Regions from separate parts of the Homo sapiens genome. Here all the other regions are linked to region 1. The links are contacts of gene promoters, found by promoter capture Hi-C in blood cells and fetal thymus (Javierre and others, 2016). All regions are on one chromosome and are shown on one strand. The core of a region is centred on a gene start or on the middle of the fragment in contact, and the rest is flanking DNA. Distances in the headings are between cores, read along the strand shown. Region 1 holds the start of BTG3 (BTG anti-proliferation factor 3). Region 2 overlaps LINC03147 (long intergenic non-protein coding RNA 3147). Region 3 overlaps LINC03147 (long intergenic non-protein coding RNA 3147). Region 4 has its middle 46 kb from the start of LINC01549. Region 5 overlaps LOC124900465 (a long non-coding RNA gene).

Region 1 (2,643 bases), core at 65-2,564:
TTTTAAAATAAAAACACCTTCACACCTCCTAGAAGACTCCAAGGTGTAAATATCCTCTTTAAATGTACCAGTAAGTAGACTAAGTCCTAGAAGAGTATAATTTTTTTTTTTTACAAATAAAGTTTATTGTACTGTTTGGGGGATGGTATATTTATTACTGCTAAAAAAATTACCATTTTGAATTGCTAATTGGCTATAACAAAGATCAGTAATACAAATTTAAAACATTCATAAAACTGAGCTGAAAACATGCTCCCAAGCCTAGTGGGCAGTAAGGAATCTGGCCAATATACTGTACAACTTGAACATTCAGTTCTTAAGTAGTTTACAACATGGTTTAGCCCTCTTTTAATAATAATAATAAAAAGGTAGGAATATCTTGTATTCCTCCCGCTAGTTGGATGTATTAAAGTGCTTTCACAAAACTAAGACCATGGTGTTAACTCAATATAAAAGGTTGAAAAGATGTTCCTTCTTTTCTTCAGAAAGTTAATGTTCCCTCTCCATATTTGTATTTGCTCAAAGATGAAGCTTTGCATCTGGGAAGTCCTTGAGTAGAGTGTCTCAGAAATAGAAAGCCTGGACTCTCAAGGCTTCATTCCTTTGGCCAACATCTTTGGAGCCTCTCCTTTATGCAAAACACAGTGGCCGGTGCCAGGGCAGCACACAAGCGTCCACAGGAGGCAGGCCCTGCTGTGAGGGGCCAGGGAAGGGCCCAACTAGGAGTGCCAACAACCGCCTAAAATACAGCAGGGCGGCTGCACGGTTAACGTGCGTGTAATTGACTACAGCAAGAAGGATGAGGATCTGTCCATAAATGCCAAGTTCCCCTTCCCGTCGAGTCCGTGTCCCCCATGAAGCCCCGGGTCTAGAGAGCTGGGTCTAGAACTCGCCATTCCGCCCTGAGGGTGTCAAGTGCAGCGTGGAGAGACCTGAGGGGGAAACAAAAAGGCCGAGACAGCCGAAAGGACCAAGCCCGCGCGACCCCCGAAGGCGCTGACGCACGTAGGGCGGCCGGGCGGGGGTCCCACAGGCCTTCAGCGCCGCTTTTTGCCGGGGAGGGAAGCCCGCGGTTCTGCGGACCGCGCCGTCGCGGTCGAGGGTCTGCGCCAGGCTCAGGGTAGGGCGAGGGTGTGTCGCCTCCCGTGCGGCTAGGCCCGGGGCTCGGGGGTGGCCTCGCGGCGAAGCCCCGCCCCCGGCACCGCCCCTCAGGCGCGCGAGCCGATCCCGCGCGCGCCAACCCTTTCCCGGGTCATCGCCCCTCCCCTCTTCCGGGCCGCGAGCCCCCTGCGCGCCGCTTTGGGGCTGCGCTCACTCGTGTGCGCGCTCGTCCGCCCGCCAGTCCTCTCAACGCGCGCTTGGCCGCCCGACGACGCGGGAGCCGCACGCGCCGGACGAGGCTCGCTGCGCTCCCTGTTGCCCAGCGCGGGCCCGTTGAGGCGGAGCCCTCAGTTCCCGGCCAGGACACGGTCTGGGCCGCCGAATCTCCGGCCGAAGAGCGGCGGCGGCAGCGGCGGTGAGGAGACCGGGCCGGGGAAAGGCAGACATGGCGGGGCTGTGGGTATCGGGGGAGGGTGGTCCCGTCGCCCCTGCGGCCACGTCGAAGGCTCGCTGGCGGGCGGCGCACCGGGGACAGGGGAGGGGCAGGGGATGGAACCAGGTTGCATGGGCTCCGGCTCGGCGCCAGAGCGGGGCTGCGGGCCGCGAGGGCGGCCCGCGAGGCTTTCCGCGGGACCCTCGGCGGGCGCCTGAGGAAAAAGACGCCGCCTCAGGGCTCCTGCCACGTTTCCCACAGCGCGTTACATTCCGCCTCCGGGTGGGCGACAACCCCGCGGCTTCCCACCCTCTGTCCACCCCCTTCGCGTCGGTGTTTTTTCTGGAGCTCCGCTTGTTTGCTGGAGAGTCGCGCCTCCGGGAAGCCGGGTCCTCGAACCCAGGGCCGCCCGCCGGGGACAGCGGACCCGCGGGGCAGGCGCACCCTGGCGAGGATGTTGTCGGGGAGGCTGGGCATTGGGCGCCAGGGCCCTTCCCCTTGAACTTGGGGAAAACCGGGATTGCAGAAGTTGGGCGCAGCTCAAGGCGGTTCTTTCAAGAGCGGGTGGAGATGTTTGATCCCTCCTCACCTACCTCTCTCAAAACCCCAGCGGGAGAGCCTAGCAGCAGGTTTCGATGGCTTCAGAAAGTCCAACTCTTAGCCCCTTGGAAAATTATTTCCCCTCTTCATGGCTTTGTGGCGCCGCTGAGGTCGGGCCGGGGCTCCTCACCCCACGGGCCAGTCTTCTCGCGCCCTCCACCTTGGGAACGTCTATCAGGAGAAAAATGTGTTCCTAGAAACGTTTGCGATTAGCTTTTCGTTACAAGGGAGGGAAAAGTACAAAAGTTATAAACTCCTGCGAGGCCGAGCTTGATTCTGGATTCCCTTTGGGTTTTATCCACGCAGCCGTGAGCAGAGGAGCCTTGTGGAACAAAGTAGAACTTGAGGAGCAGCCGCCGCGGTGACGAGGTCCCAGGATGACGTCACCGTGCGATATTTAAAATGGGAGCCTTTTGCTCTGAGTGTGGGTGGAGGACGCCTACTTACTCAAGACGCCTGAGGTCTTCTTGGCCCTGCTTGCCTCTGGTGGTTCTTGCCCTGACTGTAAC
Region 2 (2,643 bases), core at 98-2,597, 240 kb before region 1:
AGACACTTCAGTGTTGTGCTACCCTGAGGATGAAGATAATAGAGGGAAGGTTAATCCTGGGAATGTTAACTTCCTGGCACTTTCAACCTGCGTGCGCATGTCAGAGCCAATAATAATCCCGAAAGACACGATCCCCAATGCCATAGTCTCAAATGGAAAGCAATTAGAGTTATTTAAAGTTCATCCAGAATACTCTGTTGAGAATAGACTGAAGGGTAATCAAGCTGGAGCTGGAAGGCAAGTTAGGAGGCTGTTGCAACAATGTGATAAAGAAGTGAGAGTGATTTGGATGAGGGTGGTAGCAGAGGAGCTACTGCAGACAGGGAGTGGGGACAGTATTTTGAAAGTAGAGCAAACAGGATTTGCTGACAGATTAGATATGGGATGGGATAGAATGAGAGGAGTCAAGAGCAACTCTGAGGTTTTTGTCCTGAGCAACTGGAAGAAGGGAATCCATTAATTGAGAAGAAGATAAGAGGAGAAGCAGGCTTGAGGTCAGGGGTGTGAGGTGAAGGGGAAAGTCAGGAGTTAGGTGATGGATATGTGGGTGGGCAATGAATGGGTCATGTGGATCTCGAGTTCAGAGGCAAGTTTGTGAGACTTCAGTATAGAGATGATATTTAAAACCATGGCCTAGATGCCATGCACCAATGCAGTGAGCACCAATAGAAGAATTCCAAGCCACTTTGGAAAATAGTCTGGCAATTCCTCTATACACAGAGTTACCATATGATTTGGCAATTCCCCTCCTAGGTATATATCCAGGACAAGTGAAAACATGTGTCCACACAAAATCTTGTGCATGAATGTTTACAGAAGAAGAATTCACAGTAGCTAAAAGATGGAAACAATCCAAATTATCATCAACTGGTGAATGGATAAAGTATGGTATAGCTGTTCAATAGAATATTATTTGGTAATTAAAAGGAATGAAGTACTTGTACATACTACAATGTGGATGAACCTTGAAAACACGTTAAACAAAAGAAGCCAGTCACAAAAACTAGAGTTGGGCCATAATACCAAAAGACATAATTCTAAACACCATAATATCAGAAATCACAATCTTAAAAATTGAAAATTCTAAAAATATAATTCTGGAAAAAAATTTAATTTTCTTTAAAAGAAAATTATTTATGCTTGTAAAAAAGATTTATTTGAGCAACATATAAAAACATGACAGAATACTTCATAGTATACAATAAAATACATGATAAAGTTGTATAAAGTTGCCACTTTATACAATAAAATAGGCAACAATAACATTTTTATAAGCATAAGAACTCAGATATACTAACAACAGAAACATGGGTATAACAGTTATAAGCAGATGAACCATATTCATAAATAGGTCCAAAAGAAAATGTATAAACGCATATCACTATGGTTGGTAATTGTGTGCATCCAGTTTTATAACTGTGGTCATCTGAAATACCATGACAGATGACCTATGTCTTTTGATGAGATCGATAAGAAACCACAATGTGTCACCACTACATATGTAATCGCCTAGAGAGTTGAGATCTCAAGAAGTTTTATCTTTCACAAATGCAGATGTACAAAAAGGACATCCCTTCATTTATTGAGGAAGTTTCAATGTTTTTATGTACATGTGCAATGTCTCACACACAAGGTCAACATTGTGATAATGCACTTTCATGCAGTCAAATTTGCAAAAAAAAAAAATTGCATAAAACAAATTAGAACACTCTAAAGTCTTTACACAAAAGACCACATATTATATGATTACATATATATGAAATGTCCAAGATGGGTTTAAGGGGGATAATGAGAATGTTCTAAAATTGATTATGGTAATGGTTGAATAACTCTGAAATGCACTAAAAGCCCTTGAATTGTACAATTCAAATGGTTGATTTGTATGCCATGTGAATTACATCTCAATAATATCATTTTAAAGAGGAAAGTTCTAAGATTTGAGTCCTAGGGCCATTGACTATTTAGAGATTTGTGATACTTATTAAACATCCAAGATGAAATTCTGAATAGGAGTTTGAGTATGTAAATTTGAAGTTCAGGAGAGAGGTCTGGGCATAAGAAATCAATTTGAGAGTCCTTAATATATGGATAGTATTTAAAACCATTGTACTAGCTGACATCACCTAGAAAGTGAGTGTAGAAAATAAATAGAAGAGACCTGAGACATTGTTCAGGGCACACCAATGGTTAGAGGTTAGAAATAGATAAAAGGACAAGCAAATAAGCCTTAAAAGGAGGGGGCCAGTAAAGCAAGACCTTGACAGAGATCACCTCTGTCAAATGCTGCCAACAGTTCAAGTAAGATGAAAACTAACAACCATCGCTGGTTTTAGCTATGTGAAAGTCAATAGCAATTTGACAAGAGCTGTTTTGTAAGAGGCACGAGAATGAATGCCTGATTAGAAAATGAGAGACAAGCAAATTGCAGATATCAAGTAGATATAACTATTGAGAAGAGTTGCCTTTTACAGGAGCAGAGAAGTGATCCAGTAACTGCAGGGGAATAAAGAGTCTGGAAAATTGTCTTCTCTCTTAAGATAGGAAAAATAATAGCATTTATAAGCTCATGGAAATGATGAAGCAATAGAGAAAACATGATGTTACAAGAAGAGAGATGCCTGCTGCTGATGTGATGTCCTCGAA
Region 3 (2,643 bases), core at 47-2,546, 220 kb before region 1:
TTCCATTGGACATACTACCCTCCATCTTCCAGACTAGTAGAACACACAAATGGGATAATAAGAAAATAAATTGACAAAGCTTATAGAAACATTTAACTTTCCCTGGCCTAAGGCTCTTCCATTGTTATTGCTTAACTTACATTCTACCCAATTGGAAAACATCAGCTTTTTCCCTTTGAAATGATACCAGGAAGCCCCATGTGCCTGGATGAAGGAGTCTATAAACCAGCTCTCTTTAAAGATGATAGTCTTCATTATTGCCAAGGCATTAAAAAGCATTTCACTAAAAATTCTAAATTAATTGAGGATTCTTTTAACAGCAAGCTCTTGGGAGTTTATGACATCAAATATCATGGCTTCCAACTTTGAGATTTTTGGATTCCCTGTAATCATGTTGGAAGAAGCTATATCAAGTATTACTTATCAATACTTGTGCAGCTAAACTCAAAGGCATTGACTCATGGATTTACATTTCTCATTTTAAAAAGGTAGCCCTGCGTGAGTAGGCATCTTCCATCATCAGAGATCTCCAACTGAAGCTGACCTGCAGCCAGTCACCTGGTTCTTCAGACCAGGACAAGAAATTGAAACTCAGTTTAAAAAGATCACTCAAAAGGCTAAATGGCTACAAGATGACCCATGGTTGGAAAGACAGACCCCTTATATGATTTATTTGACTGGTTACCTTCAGGTATTGGAATATTTCTCACATTTGGATTTCAAATTGTTTAATTAGTAATTGTCCTTATTTGTGTCATATTTTTGATTCTTAAATCAATTATGCTTTGCATTTCTCTATCTAAAGTGTTTGTTGACAGAAACTAAACTCATGATAGCTAGATGCATAGAAATTATTCAACACGCCATACTTCCTTTGTAAGTGGATGAAATCCTGAGACCCAATTCCTCTGCCCCTTTGTGTTGCCAGTTAATTTAGCCTAAGACTTCACTAAATTCTTAAGCTGTAGTGCCTCTCCTCTTTCCCTCCAATGTAGAGAGAGATTACCCGGGAATGAGCCTTCCTAGCAATATGGGGAAAAGCTACGTTTAAAATGTTGATTATCAATGCTTTCAGAAGAGGAAGATCTCAATCAAAAAGGGGAAATGAGAAGAAAAGTAGCTCAGAGATGTCTGAGCTATGTGAGGTATGCAAAATGTATCAGATCCAGAGAGACATGAGTATTGAAAGCCAACTTGTAACTACTGCTAATCAAAGCATATATTCATGGCAACTTGAATCTGTGTCTCCTTGGTTGCAGTCCCCAAATTTGGCCCAAATAAATTCTCGACTTATGTTAATTTGCCTCAGTTTCTTTCTTTAGTTGACGAAAGGCACTATGAAAATCAAAATATTCTTTGGTATAGGCAGGGTTGCTAGCTTTATTTCCTCTGAATTTTAATAACCTTTTCTTATTTCTAGATATGAGATAATCTATTTTTTGTTTCATCACAGACATATATATGAGTAGTTCCTCTTTTTAAAATCACAGGTTTACATGTATTAAATGTGACAATTTCCCCTCTATATCTGTTAACTATATTTATCCATCATATGTCACAAATCAAAACAAAGGGAACTGTCAAATACCATTAGAGAACTTGGTAATCACAAAGTAGACAAGAACAAAAAGTGGAAATTCCAAAATCATTCTAGAAAAGAGGAAAAAAATAGGGATACTTAAGACTTAAAGATACTTAAAACAAACTTTAAATACATAAAGCAAACTAAGAGTAGCTCCTGAACAGCTTCCACATGCATATAAATTAATTCTCCTGTTATGTCTGTGGGAAAACAGTATATTACCTTTTCTTCCCACATAAACTTTCTTTCCAAACTTTTTTTGACCCTTTAAATGGAATATATCATTTTCATTATTTGGTTATGAAATATACAGAAGGTACTCGGGAAGCAGCAATGGAAGAGGCAAAAGCATTCTTGGCCCTCAGGAAACTTACAGTCTACCGGGCAATACCAACATTGAATGAGCAATTACAAGTACAATACAAAAGGAGCTTATACTTGGGGAGCTAACCTCTCATGGAGGGATGAGATTTAAAACTATTTTTATTGCCATCCTATGCATTATTAAGGAAACAGGGAAAGCTCAGGAAAGAATTACATTACAACAACATTTGAAGAAGGGTAAAGCAGAAGGGGAAAACCACAGCTTTAGACTTGAAATAGACAACGTATTCCAATCCAAGATTTCAGGTGCTTTCAAAAAGTAACTCAAATTTTATTTTTACTTAATTCCTTTATTTATATATATAAACCTGAAATTAAGCCAAAAAGCATGCTATGAGACCCAAAAAAACTCACATGCTACTCAACCAACCAAAAGTGTTTAGGACTTAAATGGGACAAAAGATTTCAATAGCACTAACAGCTCAAGGAATGTATGTTAAACCTTTTGTTTTACATCCAGAAAATTAGAAAACTGGGCTAAATATTGTATATATCAGAAGGTTTTAAAAATAATTTGTATGATTTAATTTTACCAAAGAAAGCTTACTCATTTAAAGACATTTTTATACCAGCCCTTTATATTATCAGTGGAAACTGTTTATTAAGAGGGAGTAGTATGGGGGCCGGGCGTGGTGGCTCACGCCTGTAATCCCAGCACTTTGGGAGGCCGAAGAGGG
Region 4 (2,643 bases), core at 89-2,588, 220 kb after region 1:
AGTGACATAACACTTGACTCTTTATGAAATTGAAATATGTTAGCATTTTTTTCTTTTTCACTGTTTTTTTCCACCTCCACCCCCACGTTGTTCCTATCCATATGTCTGTGTAGATGAATGGGCTCCTGAGAGTTAACAGCCTGGAGGGCTGCACAAAGTCAAGCTTCCTTTGTTGTGAATACAGCCTAGAGCAGCTGGGAGATATTATTGCGGACACCATACCAGCAATGAGGTCATTTTGTGTCTTCCAACATCCTTTGAGAAGAGCGCGTAGCTATTGTGCCCAGTGAATGCTAGAGTGGAAATCCAATCATACCTACCAGGGCTGAGGGTGTTGTCCTATAGTCTGACAGTGAATGTCTGTTCCTTAAGATAAGGCAACTGGCTTTATGCCTTTAAAAGCTACCTTTTCAAACACTGAGGTGCCTATATCCTTATTAGTTCTTTAGAGATGTTTGGGGCAGATTTCCTCAAGCCATAATCTAATGATTATAATAAAACTATTGTGCTCCAGGAGCTCTTTCTATTTCCCTCTCTCTCTAAATTAAATTACATTTTTTATTTTATCTTTTATTTTATTTTTTCGAGACAGCATCTTGCCCTGTCATCCAGGTTGGAGTGCAGTGGTGCGATCATGGCTCACTGCAGTCTCTACCTCCTGGGATCAAGCGTTCCTCCCATTTCAGCCCCCTGAGTAGCTGGGATTACAGAAGGGTGCTACCATGCCTGGCTAATTTTTTTTTTTTTTTTTTTTTTGAGATGGAGCCTTAAAAGGATCTTGAGACAGGATCTTGCTCTGTCACCCAGGCTGGAGTGCAAGTGGAGTGATCTCAGCTCACTGCAACCTCTGCCTCCTGGTTCAAGTGATTCTCCTGCCCCAGTCTTCTGAGTAGCTGGGATTATAGGTGTGCACGACCACACCTGGCTAATTTTTGTATTTTTAGTAGAGACGGGGTTTCACCATGTTGGCCAGGCTGGTCTCGAACTCTTGACCTGAAGTGATCTGCCGGCCTTGACCTCCCAAAGTGGTGGGATTACAGGCGTGAGTCACCATGCCTGGCCTTTAAAAATTTTTTTTTGTAGAGACAGGGTCTCACTGTGTTGCCCAGGCTGGTCTTGAACTCCTGGGCTCAAGCAATCCTTCTGCCTTGGCCTCCCAAAGTGCTGGGATTACAGGTGTGAGCCACCATGCCCAGGCTTATTTTATTTTACTTTAGAGAAGGGGCCTTCTATGTTGTCTAGGTTGGTCTTGAACTCCTGGGATCAAGTGATCCTCCTGCCTCAGCCTGCCAAGTAGCTGGGACTACAGGTGTGCACCACCATGCCTGGCTTTGTATTTTAATTTTTATGAAGATAATCTTGTGTATAGTTAAAAAGGTCAAATAGCTTATGCTGAAAAAAAGGGCTTGCTTGTTCCACCTTTCCCATTTCATGAAAACAAAACTATACCTAAGAGGCAATACCACACTTAACACTTTTATTTATTTTCCTACATTTTAAAAGTAATACACTTTTACTTCTATTTTTTGATTTTCTGTTTTAGATGTCATCTATTTATTTCCTAGTATAGAATATAAAATTTATTATGTTTTATGCCTGTCTACCTTCCCCAACATACTCCTCCCATTTCTCCCCTTTGCCAATATATTTAGTCACAATTTTTTGGGTAAGTCAACATCTAGAGTTTACCTTATTGTTTTATGTGTAATTATTTTCAGAGATGAGTCACGCAGTGGTTGGACAACAATTCTTCATGGGTCATTTATATTTCTGCACATTTTAAGGGCACAGGTAGTGACAGGTTTTGTTCCAGACTGCGATTTCCAGGATATAAATATAGTGAATAGCCTTGGACTATAGAGACAGCATCTCCCTCCAGAGCAGATGACAGGTGTGTTTGCTATCCAGTATGGTAAAGATAATGTCTTCCACGGGGCCAAAAGTCATGTAGGTTTGCTTTCAACCCATTATAAAAGACTGAGGTTCCCCAAGCTCAGGGTTTTTTAGCTGTGATACAAACCCACTGCATATGCAGCATCTGCCTTGGATACTCTTTGTCACCACCATGGGAACTGGAGGGCAAGGGGAACCAGAGTGACCATAAAGCTCATATTGCTTACTGTTTTGTGAGTAATAAAATCCTTTGCCTCTGACCTGGGAGTCTCAGGTCTTTCCCCAGCATCCATGAAACTATGGCAGGCTAACTTGTTGGCTTGCAAATAAGATGAAGTCTCAGACCATTCCCAGTTCTTTATCGTAGTAAACTCTGGCTTCATTTCCTTTCTTGTACTTTCCTTGTACTTATACTTCTCAGGCTTAATATTTTGTGTGTGTGTGTGTGTGTGTGTGTGTGTGTGTGTGTGTGTGTGTTTTCTTTGCTAAGTTTGTACATCCTGATGAGATACAGTGGGAAAAGCATAGCATAGTTTCCGTAATATTCCTGTGAAGGATACCTGTCCTGTGTCTGCTCCCGAGAAACACTGTGATGGTCATTACATGGAATATGAAGCTTTTACTCTTTATTTTAATTCAATTTTATTTTTTTGAGATGGAGTCTCGCTCTGTCACCAGGTTGGAGTGCAGTGGCACGATCTCGGCTCACTGCAACCTCTGCCTCATCGGCTCAAGGGATTCTCATGCCTC
Region 5 (2,643 bases), core at 78-2,577, 150 kb before region 1:
ATTGCATGTGTCATGTTACGGAAACAAACAATAAACCCATCCCTGTGATATTCCCAGACCTACCCACCCACTCCCTAATATTCAAAATAATATTGAGGGAATAAAATGGAAGCAATGTCATCATGAGATGGGAATTAATGTTTTAATTTGGTAGACAGAGAACTTGAGGTTCTAAGAACTTGCTGTTTTCAAGTTCACAGAAGTTCAAGTCCTTCAGGGGTTCTGTTGTAGCGATTTTGAGAACATAGAAAAGTTGTTCAAGGTTATGGACATTCATTTCAAGAATTCTAGATCTTAGGGAGCCTCCCTCTTTAACAAGTTCTCAGACTCTGAAGAATTGGAAGGATTAAACTTTACACCTAATTTTTTTCTTTAAAAAAGGTCAAATTAAAATTTTCTTAAAATTGTAACAGTCATAGAAGTCCTCAATGTCACATGGTTTCTTTAGAAACAGATTCCCTTCCACCCTCTAGAGAGATTGTTAGGGAAGCTGTTTGCATTACAAATGACTACCAGCAAATATTTTCATCAGAAGACAAGGGAATCTCACTAGAAATTCAGGAAATCAGAGATATGGAAAGGTCTATATGTTTCCAAGATAGCTCACCTTTAATTTTGCGGAGAAAACAAATTTGCTCTTGCTCAAGAGAGTTCTATAAAACAAAGCTTTTCCAAGAATTTTTTCTTTAAAGAAAGTGGAAAAAAAGCAGAAACTAGTATATGGGGACAGTGAGGACAGAAATTGTGTTCCTTAATTAAAATATTAATGAGCAGTCTGCTCACCACAACAAATGTAACTATGCAGTCAAAACAGACATGTCTTGAAATGGGAGACAACCAAGCATCTGTAAGGAAAAAAAAAAAAAGCAGAGAAATAGAAACATGTGCTGCTCCCAAACATTTCTTAGGCCATCTCCTAAATCCCAGTATTTTCATTCACCAGGTCTGGAGGGGACATTAGAGATTCTTCCATTCTGACCAACACGCTCAGAAGAAGCAGTGTGAAGCTGTTTTCAGGGAGCCCATCCACCACTTCTGGAGACACTCGCTTTTCAGGTGCACCGTCTTTGTGGAATCTGTCTCAGCTCCCCAGGCAGAGAGCAGGGGCTCCTCCTCTATGTTCCAGAGCCCTTCTTCCCAGAGCTCTTTTGCTATGTGCCGCAATTGCATTATTATTTTTTACATGTCCATGAGCACTAGTTGATAAGACGACAAGAACCGTTTGCCAATGTATTGCAATGGACTGAATGTTTGTGACCCACTCTCCAAAATTCTTATGTTGAAATCCTAATCCTTGATATGGTTGTATTAGGAGGTAGGGCCTTTGGGAGGTGATTAGGTCATGAGGGTGGAGCCCTTATGAATAAGAATAGTGCCCTTATAAAAATGACCCCAGAGAGCTCTCTCCTCTTTCTGCCATGTGAGGATACAGCCAGAAGTTGGCAGTCTGTAACCCAGAAGAGCATCCTCGCTGGAACGCCGCCTTGATGGCACCCTGATCTCAACTTCCAGCCTCCAGAACCGTGGGACATAAATTTGTTGTTTAGAAGCCCCGCCAGTCTATGGTACTTGGTTACAGCCGTTCAAGCTAAAATAGTGGGTGTTATGATCCTGACTCGTAAATGGGTGTCAGTACATGGATTGCTCAATTAGATGTTACATTAATGCATGAGGAAAATAAGATCCAGACGTGTTAATTGACTTACCTAGAGCATGCAGCTGTGTATCAAATTAAATCTCCTCAAAAGCCTTAAAAAATTTCTGGATATATAATCCAGCAAAAGGTTTTATCCTAACAAGAAAAACAACATAATACATTCAATCTTAGCCAAAAGGCCAAAAAGTGATGAAAAACTTCATAATGAAGCTGGCATAACCATAGTCCAGAACCCAAATGTGTGCTTCAAATTAGCTGTGTTCTCTTTTAATATTTAAACAATAACCCTGCGCTCACTGTGCTCAACAATGCGGAGAGAATTTGAAGCTTCTGAGCGAATGCAAAAAGCAATTCCATTCAGTGTTTCAACATGTGCGTACCACTTTGTGTCCTGTGAACAAGGACACAAAGATGAATGAGGTGGATCTTGGGCCCTGAGGAGCTTGTCATCTACTAAGCACTTAATGCAGAAGCCAGGGATTCCTTTATTTTTTAAAATAAATACAATTTTTCAAGAAAAAAATTTTCCACAGAAAAATAAGAGATATAATTTATTTATTTTTTCTTTTCTTTTCTTTTTGTTTTTTTTTTTGAGACAGACTCTCGCTCTGTCGCCCAGGCTGGAGTGCAGTGGCGCGATCTCGGCTCACTGCAAGCTCCGCCTCCCGGGTTCACACCATTCTCCTGCCTCAGACTCCTGAGTAGCTGGGACTACAGGCACCCGCCACCACGCCCGCCTAAATTTTTTGTATTTTTAGTAGAGATGGGGTTTCACCGTGTTAGCCAGGATGGTCTTGATCTCCTGACCTCGTGATCCTCCCACCTTGGCCTCCCAAAGTGCTGGGATTAGAGGCGTGGGCCACCGCACCCGGCCGATATAATTTATTTTTTGAAAAGTTAAAGAGAAGTTGAAGAAGAAGACACACTAAAGGAAGAGAACAAGAGTGATTCCAAGTTCTGGTACCCTACCTAGGGGGGCCTTGCTG

What was found. Contacts are between HindIII fragments. The CHiCAGO score rates a contact against its expected background, and 5 or more counts as called.
Region 2: a contact is called between a fragment that was not itself captured here and the fragment with the promoter of BTG3 in region 1, in 1 of 17 cell types (activated CD4 T cells). The highest score is 6.2, in activated CD4 T cells.
Region 3: a contact is called between a fragment that was not itself captured here and the fragment with the promoter of BTG3 in region 1, in 5 of 17 cell types (activated CD4 T cells, total CD4 T cells, total CD8 T cells and 2 more). The highest score is 8.5, in activated CD4 T cells.
Region 4: a contact is called between a fragment that was not itself captured here and the fragment with the promoter of BTG3 in region 1, in 9 of 17 cell types (monocytes, total CD4 T cells, M1 macrophages and 6 more). The highest score is 7.3, in monocytes.
Region 5: a contact is called between a fragment that was not itself captured here and the fragment with the promoter of BTG3 in region 1, in 1 of 17 cell types (activated CD4 T cells). The highest score is 6.8, in activated CD4 T cells.

The regions. Positions count from the first base shown.
Region 1 is chr21:17,611,572-17,614,214 of GRCh38, reverse strand. It overlaps BTG3 (BTG anti-proliferation factor 3), which reads left to right and starts at 1,314. Exons shown (of 5, transcript NM_006806.5): 1 at 1,314-1,516. BTG3-AS1 (BTG3 antisense RNA 1) reads right to left here and starts at 2,529. Exons shown (of 1, transcript NR_149073.1): 1 at 101-2,529. It also overlaps a transcript of CXADR not described here. The HindIII fragment of the contact is 7,083 bases long and covers 534-2,643 here.
Region 2 is chr21:17,853,814-17,856,456 of GRCh38, reverse strand. The region is part of intron 1 of LINC03147 (long intergenic non-protein coding RNA 3147); the gene reads left to right. The region is part of intron 2 of LOC124900465 (a long non-coding RNA gene); the gene reads right to left. Among named protein-coding and RNA genes, the nearest start is that of LINC03147, 30 kb to the left of the region's middle. The HindIII fragment of the contact is 5,733 bases long and covers 1-2,643 here.
Region 3 is chr21:17,833,672-17,836,314 of GRCh38, reverse strand. It overlaps LINC03147 (long intergenic non-protein coding RNA 3147), which reads left to right. Exons shown (of 3, transcript NR_024354.1): 3 at 489-643. All of the region lies in intron 2 of LOC124900465 (a long non-coding RNA gene), which reads right to left. Among named protein-coding and RNA genes, the nearest start is that of C21orf91, 16 kb to the right of the region's middle. The HindIII fragment of the contact is 2,429 bases long and covers 82-2,510 here.
Region 4 is chr21:17,391,235-17,393,877 of GRCh38, reverse strand. No RefSeq gene overlaps it. Among named protein-coding and RNA genes, the nearest start is that of LINC01549, 46 kb to the left of the region's middle. The HindIII fragment of the contact is 2,346 bases long and covers 166-2,511 here.
Region 5 is chr21:17,765,999-17,768,641 of GRCh38, reverse strand. All of the region lies in intron 2 of LOC124900465 (a long non-coding RNA gene), which reads right to left. Among named protein-coding and RNA genes, the nearest start is that of C21orf91-OT1, 25 kb to the left of the region's middle. The HindIII fragment of the contact is 1,318 bases long and covers 669-1,986 here.